Linked DNA regions of Homo sapiens: all the other regions are linked to region 1. Evidence: promoter capture Hi-C in human tissues and cell types (Jung and others, 2019). All regions are on one chromosome and are shown on one strand. Each heading gives the region's core, a stretch centred on a gene start or on the middle of the fragment in contact. The rest is flanking DNA. Distances are from core to core; before and after follow the strand shown. Region 1 holds the start of ZNF525 (zinc finger protein 525). Region 2 overlaps ZNF320 (zinc finger protein 320). Region 3 has its middle 6.9 kb from the start of ZNF816-ZNF321P.

Region 1 (4,559 bases), core at 1-2,500:
CTTTTTAGATGTAAATCTGCTGAGCCGCTGTGTACCTTAAATAAACATCCTCCTGTCTCCCCCATATCAGTCTCTCTAGTCCTCAGTTTCCCGCAACACCATCTCTGCGCCTCCTCTGCTCTCCCCGTTAAATTCTCTCTTCTCTGTTATACCCCCTGTCCCCACTCTCTGGCACCCCAGATCCCCAGGTGTCCTCCCTGCTGTGGTTCTCCCTCTGTTCTCTTTGCCACCAGCACCACTCTGCTCTGTCTGCCCTGGCTCCAAATCCCTCCTCCTCTCCCTCACCCTGATGAGCCTCCCTCTTTGCTGTCCCTCTCCCTACCTTGCTGTCCTTCATCTCTCTGTACATCTAGCTTTTCTCTACATTTCTCTAGTTGCTTTTCTCCTCCTGCTTATCTTTTTTTTTTTTTTTTTCACTTTTGCTGTCTCTTGGCAAATCCCTCACCCATCCTCTACTTTGCCATCTGTTATGGGCCTTTCTCATTCTTCTTTTCTCTGTCTCAGGTTTTCTACTGCTGTCTGTCTCCCGATCCCTTTGGCCCACACAATCACAGGAGGGTTTGGAGTAAGACGCCTGCATCCCGGAGGAGCTTATTTTCCAGGGGCTGGAACTGGGCAGGCAAGAACACCCCGTGTCACAGGACAGAACCCGGGCACCTCCCCTAACGCAGGCTCAGGGCAAGCTGTGACTGCGGATGGGAGACCTGGGGAGCAGCAGGGCCCGGCATGAGGAGGGACGTGGGGGGCGACGGCGCCTTAAGACAAGGGTGGGGTTTGTAGGATCCCAGGACAGGCAGAGAACTCGGCCTCCCCGGGACCGGAGCTGCGACGCTGCGCTCTAGGGGCCGACGAGGGCGAGGCTGGGAGGCGCCCAGGGCGGGAATTCACCTCTCGGGTGAGGACTTTAAAAAGCGCGGGGCGGGAGGAGTCAGAAAAAGGTTTAGAGCAGGAAAACTACGCGATAGAAAGTGTATATATTGCCCTATAGCAGAAAGATCCGGAACGGGACCAGCCTCAGGGAGACTTTAAACCCAAAAGGAAGTGACCCCCGGGCTCTCACGGGGACGTCTCAATTTGCTCTGGGCGAAGGAAGACGGGTGAGAATTTCCAGGTCTGTAGGGACCCCACGTCCCAGGGACAGAAGCGCCGGGGACCTGGGAAGAGCAGACTTCATACAAGATGGAGCGAAACTCACGCGCCGCTGAGGGACCTTCACTCCACGCGATCTGCTTCCGGGTTTGCGCGCGTCTGAGCGGGGAAGGACAGAAGCCAGGCCTGGGCGGGGCCTGCGAGGAGGTGGGCGGGGCCTGGGCCAGGTAGGGGTAGAGGCGGAGAGACCTTGCCCTTTAGTACCGGCAGAGGGCGGGGCGGGGCTGGGCTGGGGCGGGATCTGTGCGTCTCTCAGCCTCCCTCCCACCGCCTCTGTTTTTGGGTTTTGGAGGCGAGATGGCCAGGAAGGCCGATCCATGATTCAAAAGCCCTGGAATTGTCTGAAACGCGGATGCAAAGTAGAATGTGAAATGCAAAGCCCTGCTTGGGCAGAACTTACAATGTCATGCTGACGGCCCAGAGAATAGAATAGAAATCCTCTCCCTTTCTATTCTCCATTCACTCCGGAGGGAGAGTCCACCCTGTGCTCAGCTGCAGAGACTTCCCTAAAGCCACCGCCTGGGATGCTGGACGGAGTGCTCAGGCCAGCGAGGAGTGAGGTCACCACCTGCCGGATAAACACAGCAAGGATGCGGACGCGGGCGCGGGAGCCTGAGGTCCCATCTACTCAGGAAGCAGGGCGGGAGGATCGCTGAACCTGGGGGTCCAGGCCAGCCTGGGCGACAAAGTAACACCCCCTCCCGCAGGGCTCCCTTCCTCGTTTCTCTCTTTCTCTCTTTATTTTTCGTTGTTTTTTTTTTACGTTTTAAAATAAGAGGTTGATTGTATGAGATAGGGATCCAACATTGTTCTTTTCCATGTGGATATCCAGTTAGTTGTCCATTCCACATTTGTGGAAGAGATCTGTTACTTTCTTTTATGTATTTACTTATTTCTTTTCTTTTGTTTTGAGACAGAGTATTTCTCTGTCATCCAGGCTGCAGTGCAGTGGTGGGATCTCGACTCACTGCAAGCCTCTGCTTCCTGGGTTCAAGTGATTCCCCTGCCTCAGCCTGAAGGGGGCCTGCCCCTCCACACCTGCGGGTGTTTCTCATCAGGTGGAGATGAGAAACTGAGAAAAGAAATAAGACACAGAGACAAAGTATAGAGAAACAGCAGTGGGCCCAGACAACCGGAGCTCAGTGTGCGAGTACCCGCACCGGCGCTGGTCTCTGAGTTCCCTCAGTATTTATTGATCACTATTTTTACTATCTTTGTGAGGGGAGTGTGGCAGGGCAACAGGGTGATGGTGGCGAGAAGGTCAGCAGGGAAACGTGAGCAAAGGAATCTGTGTCATGAATAAGTTCAAGGAAAGGTACTGTGCCTGGATGTGCACGTAGGCTAGATTTATGTTTCTCTTCACACAAACATCTCAGTGTAGCAAAGAGTCACAGAGCAGTATTGCTGCCAGCATGTCTCACCTCCAACCACAGGGCGGTTTTCTCCTACCTCAGAATAGAATGAATGGTCGGCTTTACACCGAGGCATTCCATTCCCAGAAATGAGCAGGAGACAGAAGCCTTCCTCTTATCTTGACTGCAAAGAGGCCTCCCTCTTTCACTACTCCTCCTCAGCACAGACCCTTCACGGGTGTCGGGTTGGGGGATATAAGGTCTTTCTTTTCCCATGAGGCCATATCTCAGGCTGTCTCAGTGGGGGGAAACTTGGACAATACCCAGGCTTTCTAGGGCAGAGGTCCCTGCGGCTTTCCGCAGTGCATTGTGTCCCTGGTTAACAGAGAATGGAGAATGGCGATAACTTTTACCGGGCATACTGCCTGCAAACATATTGTTAACAAGGCACACCCTGCACAGCCCTAAATCCATTAAACCTTGATTCAATACAGCACATGTTTCTGTGAGCACAGGGTTGGGGCTAAAGTTACAGATTAACAGCATCGCAAAGCAGAACAATTTTTCTTAATACAGATCAAAATGGAGTTTCTTATGTCTTCCTTTTCTACATAGACACAGTAACAGTCTGATCTCTCTTTCTTTTCCCCACATTTCCCCCTTTTCTTTTTGACAAAACCACCATCGTCGTCATCACCCATTCTCAATGGTCGCTGTCTCTTCGGAGCTGCTGGGTACACCTGCAGACTAACAACAGACAGAACAGGAACACAAGGATTAATATGAAATTTACAATAGTGGAACTTGCGATGGTTTTAACCCAAGTGACCGGGTTAAGATTTGCGAGGCCATCAGCAGCTTTCGCGATTGCCTCAGTTCCTGGCACCAAATTTAAATGGGTTTTTGATGCCTCAAAAATTTTTCTTTTAATTTTGAAATGTCTAAAGTAAGATCATCTTCTCTTCCTTGTAGATGGCATCTAACCATGTCCCAATGATGCTCAGACTCATTATAGGCTTAGGATGTAATACAAAAATGTGACATATTCCAGTCACAGTGTAACCAGAAATGATGTTTCAAGCTCGTGAGCCTATCTCCCATCCAAACAACATTGTGTCTAAGGTCATTAATTTGATTTGCCAATTTTTGATCAATACCAGATTATGAATTCCACAATCTTGTAGAATTCTTTTGCCAATAATTAAAAAAGTTTACTGTCTGAGCAGAAGAGTACAATGAAACTCCTGCCACAGAGGCCGTAGCTGTGACTGCAATTAGTCCCATAATCACTGCAATTAAAGAATATTTTGGATCTATTTAAAATGGCTTTGAATACTTCAGTCAAAATATGGACGGATGGCGAGGCCTCCCACGGTCAGTCCATGGACACAGGGACCCACACGCCTTCTCTTGCTCTCACTAGCAGAATATGGTGCTGCCAATTAAAAGTCGAATCAATGCAAGTAAACAATCTGCAGTTTTCACAGGTTATAGTTTGGGAGTCTGGTTTAATAACTATATTTCCTACAACTAGCATATAAGGGGGCTTTATACAACTTTGCAAAGGAACTGTTAGACTGGAATTTAGGTCGATAGTATAAAATGGCTTGCGATCTCTTCTTTATATAGCTTGATTTCCAGATCAAATTCTAATGCAATATGAGGCCACAGTAAGCATCCATAATTGTGGATGTTCAGGACCAGAAACAAGACTTATTATTTTTAGTCTTGGAGTAGAGATTCCTTTTTCTCCCCATTCCAAAGGGTAGAAAGACTGTAATTTTTTGTGCTTATGTTTGTCTAAACTTTCTGTTAAGTCACTGTTAACAGCTGGACTCACTTGTGCACTGGGACATGACTGAGTTTGTCCTGTGCAATTGTGGTAGAATTGACCTCGACATGTCCAATCTATAATAGTTCCGAATTCATTGTTTTGTAATATCTCCGCACTATCGGCCACACATTCTTCCCAAACTAAAACTTCTGTGCCTTTTGATTCTTTGGGAATTACCTTGGGGCAAGGCTTTTGTTTAGGCCTAAATTGTAATGATCATTGAT
Region 2 (4,559 bases), core at 1,083-3,582, 480 kb after region 1:
TCTGGACTTTCACTGTCCCCTTTGTTTAGATGTTCTGCGTTCTTCATGATACCTCAATGTGGGTTCCAGAACTAAAGTAGGCATAAAACCTTATGGCAAGCTGGGCATGGTGGTTCATGCCTGTCATCCCAGAACCTTGGGAGACTGAGGTGTGTGGATCACTTCAGGTCAGGAGTTTGAGACCAGCCTGGCCAACATGGTGAAACCCTGTCTCTACTAAAAATACAAAAATTAGCCGGACGTCATGGTGCACACCTGCAATCCCAGCTCCTAGAAAGGCTGAGGAGAGAGAATTGCTTGAACCCAGGAGGCCAAGGTTGCAGTGAGCCGAGAACACACCGCTGCACTCCAGCCCAGACGACAGAGCAAGACTGTCTCAAAAAACAAAAACAAAACCTTATGGTAGACTTTAAACATATCCAGTTCCCTGTTTGCTTCTCCTGTGCTTTCAACTCATTAGTTCTTGGAAGATAGCCCGATGTCCACATATTACATATTACAGTGCTCCAACAGCATTCAGAATGAGGCAGTCAGTGGAGGAATTTGTGAAATATTTTCCTAGATCCACCTGTAATGTCTTCTTTCCTACAGAAATATAGGGCTGGGACTCTAGAAAAGCTCCAGCACATCATGGTCCTTTCTTTTTATAAGCACGAGTCTCTTTCTGACCTGTTATCTCCATGTTGGAGCAAGGGAAAGAGCCCTGGACTGTGGAGAGTTAAGTGAAAATAACAAAAAACTCCAGATGGGTGGGAATGTATTACAGGTGTAAACGCAGGTAAGAGCTCAGATGGGCAGAGTGGAAGCTCCACCTTCAAATAGTGTGTGGGGAAACTCTCTGCAAGTGGGAGAATTCTGTGGCAAAAGAAAAGTTTCAATCCTGAGATCTCTGAAGGGACATCTTTCTTTGCCCTCACTTATCCCTCTGCTCTTTCCTTATTTACTTCTTTTCTTTTCTTTTGTTTTGTTTTTTCTTTTCCTTCCTTCCTTCCTTCCTTCCTTCCTTCTTTCTTTCTTTTCTTTCTTTCTTTCTTCTTTTCTTTCTTTTTCTTTTGATAGTTTCACTCTTTCATCCAGGCTACAGTGCAGTGGAACGATCTTGGCTAACTGCAGCCTCTGCCTTTCAGGCTCAAAGGATTCTTGTGCCCCACCTTTCTTGGAGGCTGGGACTGCAGGCGCTCACCACCATGCCCAGCTCACTTTGTGTTTTTAGTAGAGATGGGGTTTCACCATGTTGTTCAGGCTGGTCTCAAACTCCTTATCTCAAGTGATTCACCTGCTTCGGCTTCCCAAAATGCTGGGATTACAGGCGCGAGCTGCCATGCCCAACCATGGTTATTCTTTTAAATAGTTTTGTCTTTTAGTTCTTAGTAAACATAAGTGGTTTAAACATGATTCCAGTGTGAATATAACAACCACATTAGTGTCCATTCCGTTCAGTACGCAGAAGTGAAGTGCGTTGTATTGATATATGGGGAGAGGTTATTGTTGCAGGTATGTTAAACATCTTAAACTTATAGCACAATAATGAAGCTTAAAATTTCCATAACCTGGCCAGGTGCAGTGGCTGACACCTGTTATTCCAGCACTGGGATGCCGAGGTGGGCAGATCGCCTGAGGTCAGGAGTTCAGAACCAGCCTGGGTAGCATGATGAAACTTCATCTGTACTAAATTTACAAAAATTAGCCAGGCACAGTGGTGGGCAGCTGTAATCCCAGCTACTCAGGAGGCTCAGGCAGGAGAGTCACTTGAACCTGGGAGGTGGAGGTTGCAGTGAGCCAAGATCGCACCATTGCACTCCAGCCTGGGAGACAGAGTGAGACTCCATGTCAAAAAAATAAAAATAAAAATAAAAAAATTCCATAACCTACAAAAACTACTTCTTCTCCAGTAGAACTTTTTTATTTTTGTCAGAGTTATTTTTGTGTATGTTGCATTTCTGTTAACATATATGTACAGTGTTTTTTCATACATTTTCATTTTTAATAATATGAAAAAAAGTTTAGTTATGAAGAAAAGGTATACGTATGCGAGTTTCTGTATCTGTCCTTTTATTAATTAATTAATTTATGTATTTATGAGACAGAGTTTTGCTCTTGTCACCCAGGCTGAAGTGCAGTGCTGCAATCTTGACACCACAACCTCCACCTCCCCGGTTCAACCAATTCTCCTGCCTCAGCCTGTCGAGTAGCTGGGATTACAGGCATGCGCCACCACACCCAGCTAATTTTGTATTTTTATTGTTTTATTTATTTATTTATTTTTTTGAGACAGAGTTTCACTCCTGTTTCCCAGGCTGGAGTGCAATGGTGCAATCTCAGCTCACTGCAACCTCCACCTCCCAGGTTCAAGCAGTTCTCCTGCCTCAGCCTCCTGAGTAGCTGGGACTACAGGTGCTGGCCACTATGCCTGGCTAATTTTTGGTATTTTTAGTTCAGACGGGGTTTCACTGTGTTAGCCAGGATGGTCTCGATCTCCTGACCTTGTGATCCACCCACCTCAGCCTCCCAAAGTGCTGGGATTACAGGCATGAGCCACCACGCCTGGCCTAATTTTGTATTTTTGGTAGAGACAGGGTTTACTCCTTGTTGTCCAGGCTGGTCTCGAACCCTTGACCCCAGGTGATCCGCCTGGCTTGCCCTCCCAAAGTGCTGGGATTATAGGCATGAACCACCATGCCCAGCCTACCCGTTTTTTTTATTTACCTTTACTGGAGAACTTTATATATGTTTGTGGGTTGGAGTTATTCTTTAGCCTTCTGTCATTTATTTATTTTTTCTTTGAGACACAGTCTCAGTCTCTCACCCAGGCTAAAGTGCAGTGGTGTGATCTTGGGTCACTGCAACCTCCACTTCCCAAATTCCAGTGATTCTCCTGCCTCAGCCTCTCAAGTAGCTGGGACTACAGGCGAGTGCCAACATGCCAGGCTAATTTTTTTGTATTTTTTTTTAGCAGAGATGGGGTTTTACCTTGTTAGCTGGGATGGTCTTGATCTCCTGACCTCAGGAATCTCCCACCTCATCCTCCCAAAATGCTGGGATTACCATGCCCTACATGTCTCAAGGTTTTTAAAACATGTTAGTGCTATTAGATGGCTTCAAGTATTGCAAGATTTATAGTAGAGACCCTAAACATCCTTTGTTTAATAAGATTTGTCAGCCTGTGGTGATGTTGATGATGAGATGCTCCTGTTCCTTTCTCTGTCATTTCACTGTTAGAAATAGCTTAGACTGACTGGCCACGGTGGCTCATGCCTCTAATCCTAGCACTTTCAAAGACCAAGGTGGGTAGATTGCTTGAGGTCAGGAGTTTGAAAACAGTCTGGCCAACATGGTGAAACCTGGAATGTACTAAATGCCAAAAATGGGCCAGGCGCAGTGGCTCACACCTAAAATCCCAGCACTTTGGGAGGCTGAGACAGGTTGATCACTTGAGGTCAGGAGTTCAAGACAAGCCTGGCCAATATGGTAAAACCCCATCTCTACTAAAACCACAAAAACCAGCTGTGCATGGTGACTTGCGCCTATAATCCCAGCTACTTGGGAGGCTGAGGCAGGAGAATCACTTGAACCCATGAGGTGGAGGTTGCAGGGAGCTGAGATCACGCCACTGCACTCCAGCCCGGGCAACAGAGTGAGACTCTGGGCTGAGGAGGGAGAATCAGTTGAGGTAGGAGAATCCTGCCAGTACACTCTAGCCTGGGTGATAAGAGCGTGACTCGATCTGAAGAATAAACGAAAAAGGAAGTAGCTTAAACTGGGAAGCTTAAGACACAGAAATTTATTTCTCATGAATTTGGAAAGTGGGAAATCCAAGAGCAAGGTGCCAGCCAAATTGATTCCTGGTGAGAGGCTTCTTCACGGTTTAGCCCAGCCATCTTCCTGCCATGTCCCAATATGGTAGAAAGAGGAACAGGCAATGAGCTCTTTAATGTCTCTATAAATGCACTAGTCCTATTCATGAGGAGTCAACACCCATGACTAAATTCTCTCAAAGTCTGCATCTGCAGGAACATCCTATTAGAGAATACCACATCTACCAAAGCTTATATGAGAAGTAGTTATTTATCTTATTTTATTTTTTTTGAGATGGAATCTCATCTTGTTGCCCAGGCTAGAGTGCAGTGGCACTATCTTGGCTCACTGCAACCTCCGCCTCCTGGGTTCAAATGATTCCTGCCTCAGATTCCCAAGTAGCTGGGATTACATGCACCTGCCACCACGTCCAGCTAATTTTTTTTGTATTTTTAATAGAGATGGGGTTTTACCATTTGTTCCAGGCTGGTCTCAAACTCCTGACCTCATGATCCACCCGACTCAGCCTACCAAAATGCTGGGATTACAGGTATGTGCCACCGTGGCCGGCCATTAGTCAATTCTTATTCCTTATAATTCTGTGTATTTTCTTCACCTCATACTTCAGAAGGTAGTGATTTTAACATGTATTTCAGTTCTTATGTTGTGTACGGGTGGTAACTACAAGTTATGGCCTTTTTCTTAAGAGGGAATTGTTTAGAATTCTGCAGGCAGTATAAATTGACTTATTATTTTCTTCCTTT
Region 3 (4,559 bases), core at 1,142-3,641, 400 kb after region 1:
GTCACAAAGTGCCACTGGGTGCAGTGGCTTATGCCCGTAATCCCAAATGGCCAACATGGTGAAATCCCATCTCTACTAAAAATACAAAAATTAGCCGGGCATGCTGGTGCTTGCCTGTAATCCAAGGTATTCAGGAGGCTGAGGCAAGACACTCACTGGAACCCAGGAGGTAAAGGTTGCAGTGAGCCAAGATCGTGCCATTGCACTCCAGCCTGGGTGACAGAGCAAGACTCCATCTCAAAAATATAAAAATAATAAACATTTTTTTAAAAAGTCACAAAGTGCCTGTTCCACATGGATATAGGAAATTTTTCACAGTTATTCAGAAAAATATGGTATTCACATTTTCTTTTTTGGGGGATGGAGTATCACTCTGTCGCCCAGGGTGGAGTGCAGTGGCACGATTTCAGCTTACCACAATCTTTGCCTCTCGGATTCAAGCAATTCTTCTGCCTCAGCCTCTCAGGTATCTGGGATTACAGGTGCCCACCACCATGCCTGGCTACCGGCTACTTTTTGTATTGAGGTAATCCACCTGCCTCTGCCTCCCAAACAAGTACTGGAGTTACAGGTGTGAGCCACCATGCCCTGCTTTTTTTTTTTTTTTTGAGATGGAGTCTCACTTTGTCATCCAGGCTGGAGTGCAGTGGTGCGATATTGACTCACTGCAGCCTTTGCCTCTTGGTGATTCTTGTGTCTCAGCCTCTCATGTAGTGGGATTACAGGCATGGGCCGCCATGCCTGGCTAATTTTTGTATTCTTTTCTTATCTTCTCAGTGCTGTGATTGTTTGACAATACAGAATTTCCATTGATTTTGATTATCCTTACAAGAGCTTGTTGTGGATTATTTACCAATATAGTACGTTATCCGGTCCTTTAGCATTTATTTGTATACTCTATGCTATAAATATGAAGAATATATATTTTTTCCTTCTTTGATGTGACAGTAATATGCTTTTTGCAAACTGTGATACATTTTAGGGTCACAGTGGAAAAACACTCCTTACTTTAGGCTTACACATGTTTGTGCCCTGTCAGTGTTTCGTCATGATATTGGGAATAGGCTTCTGTAGAAATGATTTAAAGGACTTGTAATCGCCCTTTATTTATTAAAGAACCTTACTCCTTTTGTGTTCTTAAACTTTGAAAATCATGTTTGGGAATTTCAAAATAAATATTGTTTTTTGTGTCCTAGTTACATATTTCAGTATTATTTACCATCTGCACTTAATTGGAAACCTATTGTTGTTTATATTTTGTAGCTATCTCTTCCAAATGCATGACAAGGAAGTTCTCATCAAGAAGGCAAGGCAATACAGAAGTGTTCCACACAGGGACATTGCAAAGACAAGCAAGTCATCACACTGGAGATTTTTCCTTCCAGGAAATTGAGAAAGATTTTCAGGACTTTGAGTTTCAGTGGCAAGAAGATGAAAGAAATGGCCATGAAGCACTCATGACAGAGATAAAAAAGTTGACAGGTAATACAGACTGATATGATCAAAGGCATGCTGGAAACAAACCTATTAAAGATCAGCTTGGATCAAGCTTTCATTCACATCTGCCTGAACTGCATATATTGCAGAGCAAAGGGAAAATTGATAGTCAAGATGAGAAGTCTGTCAATGATGCTTCCTCAGTTTCAGCATCCCAAAGAATTTCTTGTATTCCTAAAACCCATATTTCTAATAAGTATGGGAATAATTTCCTCCAGGAAGCACACATGAGAGAAAAATCTTTCCAATGTAATGAGAGTGGCAAAGCCTTTAATTGTAGCTCACTGTTAAAAAAATGTCAGATAATCCATTTAGGAGAGAAAAAATATAAATGTGATATATGTGGCAAGGTCTTTAATCAGAAGCGATACCTTGCATACCATCATAGATGTCACACTGGTGAGAAACCTTACAAGTGTAATCAGTGTGGCAAGACCTTCAGTTACAAGTCATCCCTTGTAATTCACAAGGCAATTCATACTGGAGAGAAACCTCACAAGTGTAATGAATGTGGCAAGGTTTTTAATCAAAAAGCATATCTTGCAAGTCATCATAGACTTCATACTGGAGAGAAACCTTACAAATGTGAAGAATGTGACAAAGTTTTTAGTCGCTAATCACACCTTGAAAGACATAGGAGAATTCATACTGGAGAGAAACCGTACAAATGTAAGGTTTGTGACAAGGCTTTCAGACGTGATTCACACCTGGCACAACATATTGTAATTCACACTGGAGAGAAACCTTACAAGTGTAATGAGTGTGGCAAGACCTTTGTTCAAAATTCATCTCTTGTAATGCATAAGGTCATTCATACTGGAGAGAAATGTTACAAGTGTAATGAATGTGGCAAGGTTTTTAATCACAAATCAAACCTTGCATGTCATCATAGACTTCATACTGGAGAGAAACCTTACAAGTGTAATGAATGTGGCAAGGTTTTTAATTGAAAATCAAACCTTGAACATCATCATAGAGTTCATATCGGAGAAAAACCTTACAAATGTGAAGAATGTGACAAAGTTTTCAATTTCAATTCACGCCTTGAAATACATAGGAGAGTTCATACTGGAGAGAAACCATAGAAATGTAAGGTTTGTGACAAGGCATTCGGGTGTGATTCACACCTGGCACAACATACTAGAATTCACACTGGAGAGAAACCGTGCAAGTGTGATGAGTGTGACAGAGCCTTCAGTGGTCAGTCAACACTTATTCACCATCAAGCAATCCATGTCATAGGGAAACTTTACTAATGTAATGATTGTCACAAAGTCCTCAGTAATGCTACAACCATTGCAAATTATTGGAGAATGCATAATGAAGTGAGAACTTACAAGTGTTATAAATGTGGCAAATTTTTCAGACTTCGTTCATACCTTGCAGTTTATCAGCGAACTCATACTGGAGAGAAACCTTACAAATGTGATGATTGTGGCAAGGTCTTCAGTCAAGCTTCATCTTATGCAAAACACAGGTGAATTCATACAAGAAAGAAACCTCACAAGGGTGATGATTGTGTCAAAGCCTTTATTTCAGGTTCATGCCTCATTACACATCAGAGAATCCATACTAGACAGAGATCTTACAAAAGTCATATGTGTGGCAAGATCTTTAGTCTGAGGTCACTCCTTGCAGGACATCAGGAAATTCATTTTTGAGGTAATAATTTCAAATGCAATGAGTATAGCAAACCATCAAGCACAATTGATGTTAGATTCAAATCAGCATTGAGTTCAGTTTGAGTTGACTTAACATTGAGTTCAAGTATTTGTTGAGATTAAAGTGTTTATGTTAAGAGGATTAGGCCAGGTGCGGTGGCTCACACCTGTAATCCCAGCACTTTGGGAGGCCAAGACAGGTAGATCACTTGAGATCAGGAGTTTGAGAGCAGCCTGGCCAACAGAGGTGAGCACCTTTCCCAGTCTGTTTTTTGTTTCTTCAACAAAAACTGATAGAGATTTTTATGGGTATTGTGTTGAATCAAAATCACATTGGGTTATGTAATCATTTAACAGTATTAATTTTTCCAAAACATCAATATGGGTTATATCTTTATATATGTTTTTAATCATTTTGATCAATGTTTGTAGATTTCAATGTATGAATTTCTCACTTCTTTCCATTTATTCCTATTTCTTACTTTAAGTTCTCTAGCAAATGGAAGTGTTTTTAAATTTTCATTTAAAATTGTTTATTGTTAATGTATGAAAATTCAACGAATTTTTGGTGCTGATATTGTATTGTGCAAATCTACTGATGTGTTTATTAGTCACAGTAGTATTTTGGTTGACTCTTTGTGATTTTCTACACAGAAGATCATGTCATCTACAAAAAATATAATTTTACTTTTTCTGATTTTGAGGCATTTCATTTCTTTTGCTAGTTCATTGCTCTGGCTAGGACTTCCAGTATTTATTGAATAGAAAAAGTGAGAACGTTCTTGCATCATGTGAGATCCTACGGGAAAAGGATTCTATTTTCCCTGCTTGGTTATCTCCACATTGGTCATTTCATCAATGGTCTTTCTATTGGTGAGGTAAATTTCCTTCTCCATCTATTTTGTTTAAGATTTCTATGATGATCAGATGCTGAATTTTGTGAAATGATTTTTCTCCATCTGTTGAGATGATGTGGTTTTCATCTTTCATTCTGTTCAAGTGGTATATCACATTGATTTGCTTGAATATGTTGAACCATCCTTGCATGCCAGAAGTAAATGGCACTTGCATATCTACAATCCTTTTATATATCCTCTTGAATACAGTTTTCTAGTACAAGTGGTCTTCAAGAAGCTCATGGAAAAATACATATTATGGAAAAATTGTGCATGAATTTCACAGTTTTTGCACCAAAATAAACTGATACAAATCTGTTATAACATGTCTGAACAGGCTCTAGTTTGAGGCACTGAGAAGGATAAGACATGAGTTTGAAAAGAGACTGTATCAAAGGAATACAAATTCTGCTAAAATTGAAACAAGAAGAAACATAAAATTTATGATGAGAACAGTTGCAGTGTCTCAGGTCTGTAATTCCAGTAATTTCAGAGGCCAAGACAG

What was found. The method cuts DNA at HindIII sites, captures the fragments that hold promoters and counts their contacts. A contact is called where the count stands out against the background at its distance.
Region 2: a fragment that was not itself captured here is called in contact with the fragment with the promoter of ZNF525 in region 1 in 1 of the 25 tissues and cell types used here (small bowel).
Region 3: a contact is called between a fragment that was not itself captured here and the fragment with the promoter of ZNF525 in region 1, in 1 of the 25 tissues and cell types used here (spleen).

What each region holds. Positions count from the first base shown.
Region 1 is chr19:53,362,396-53,366,954 of GRCh38, reverse strand. It overlaps ZNF525 (zinc finger protein 525), which reads right to left and starts at 1,250. Exons shown (of 4, transcript NM_001348156.2): 1 at 1,196-1,250. RefSeq lists silencers at 853-912, 1,313-1,362 and an enhancer at 953-1,202. The HindIII fragment of the contact is 12,378 bases long and covers 1-4,559 here.
Region 2 is chr19:52,883,426-52,887,984 of GRCh38, reverse strand. The region is part of intron 5 of ZNF320 (zinc finger protein 320); the gene reads left to right. Among named protein-coding and RNA genes, the nearest start is that of ZNF320, 12 kb to the left of the region's middle. The HindIII fragment of the contact is 3,146 bases long and covers 760-3,905 here.
Region 3 is chr19:52,967,547-52,972,105 of GRCh38, reverse strand. It overlaps the pseudogene ZNF702P. Among named protein-coding and RNA genes, the nearest start is that of ZNF816-ZNF321P, 6.9 kb to the right of the region's middle. The HindIII fragment of the contact is 4,137 bases long and covers 323-4,459 here.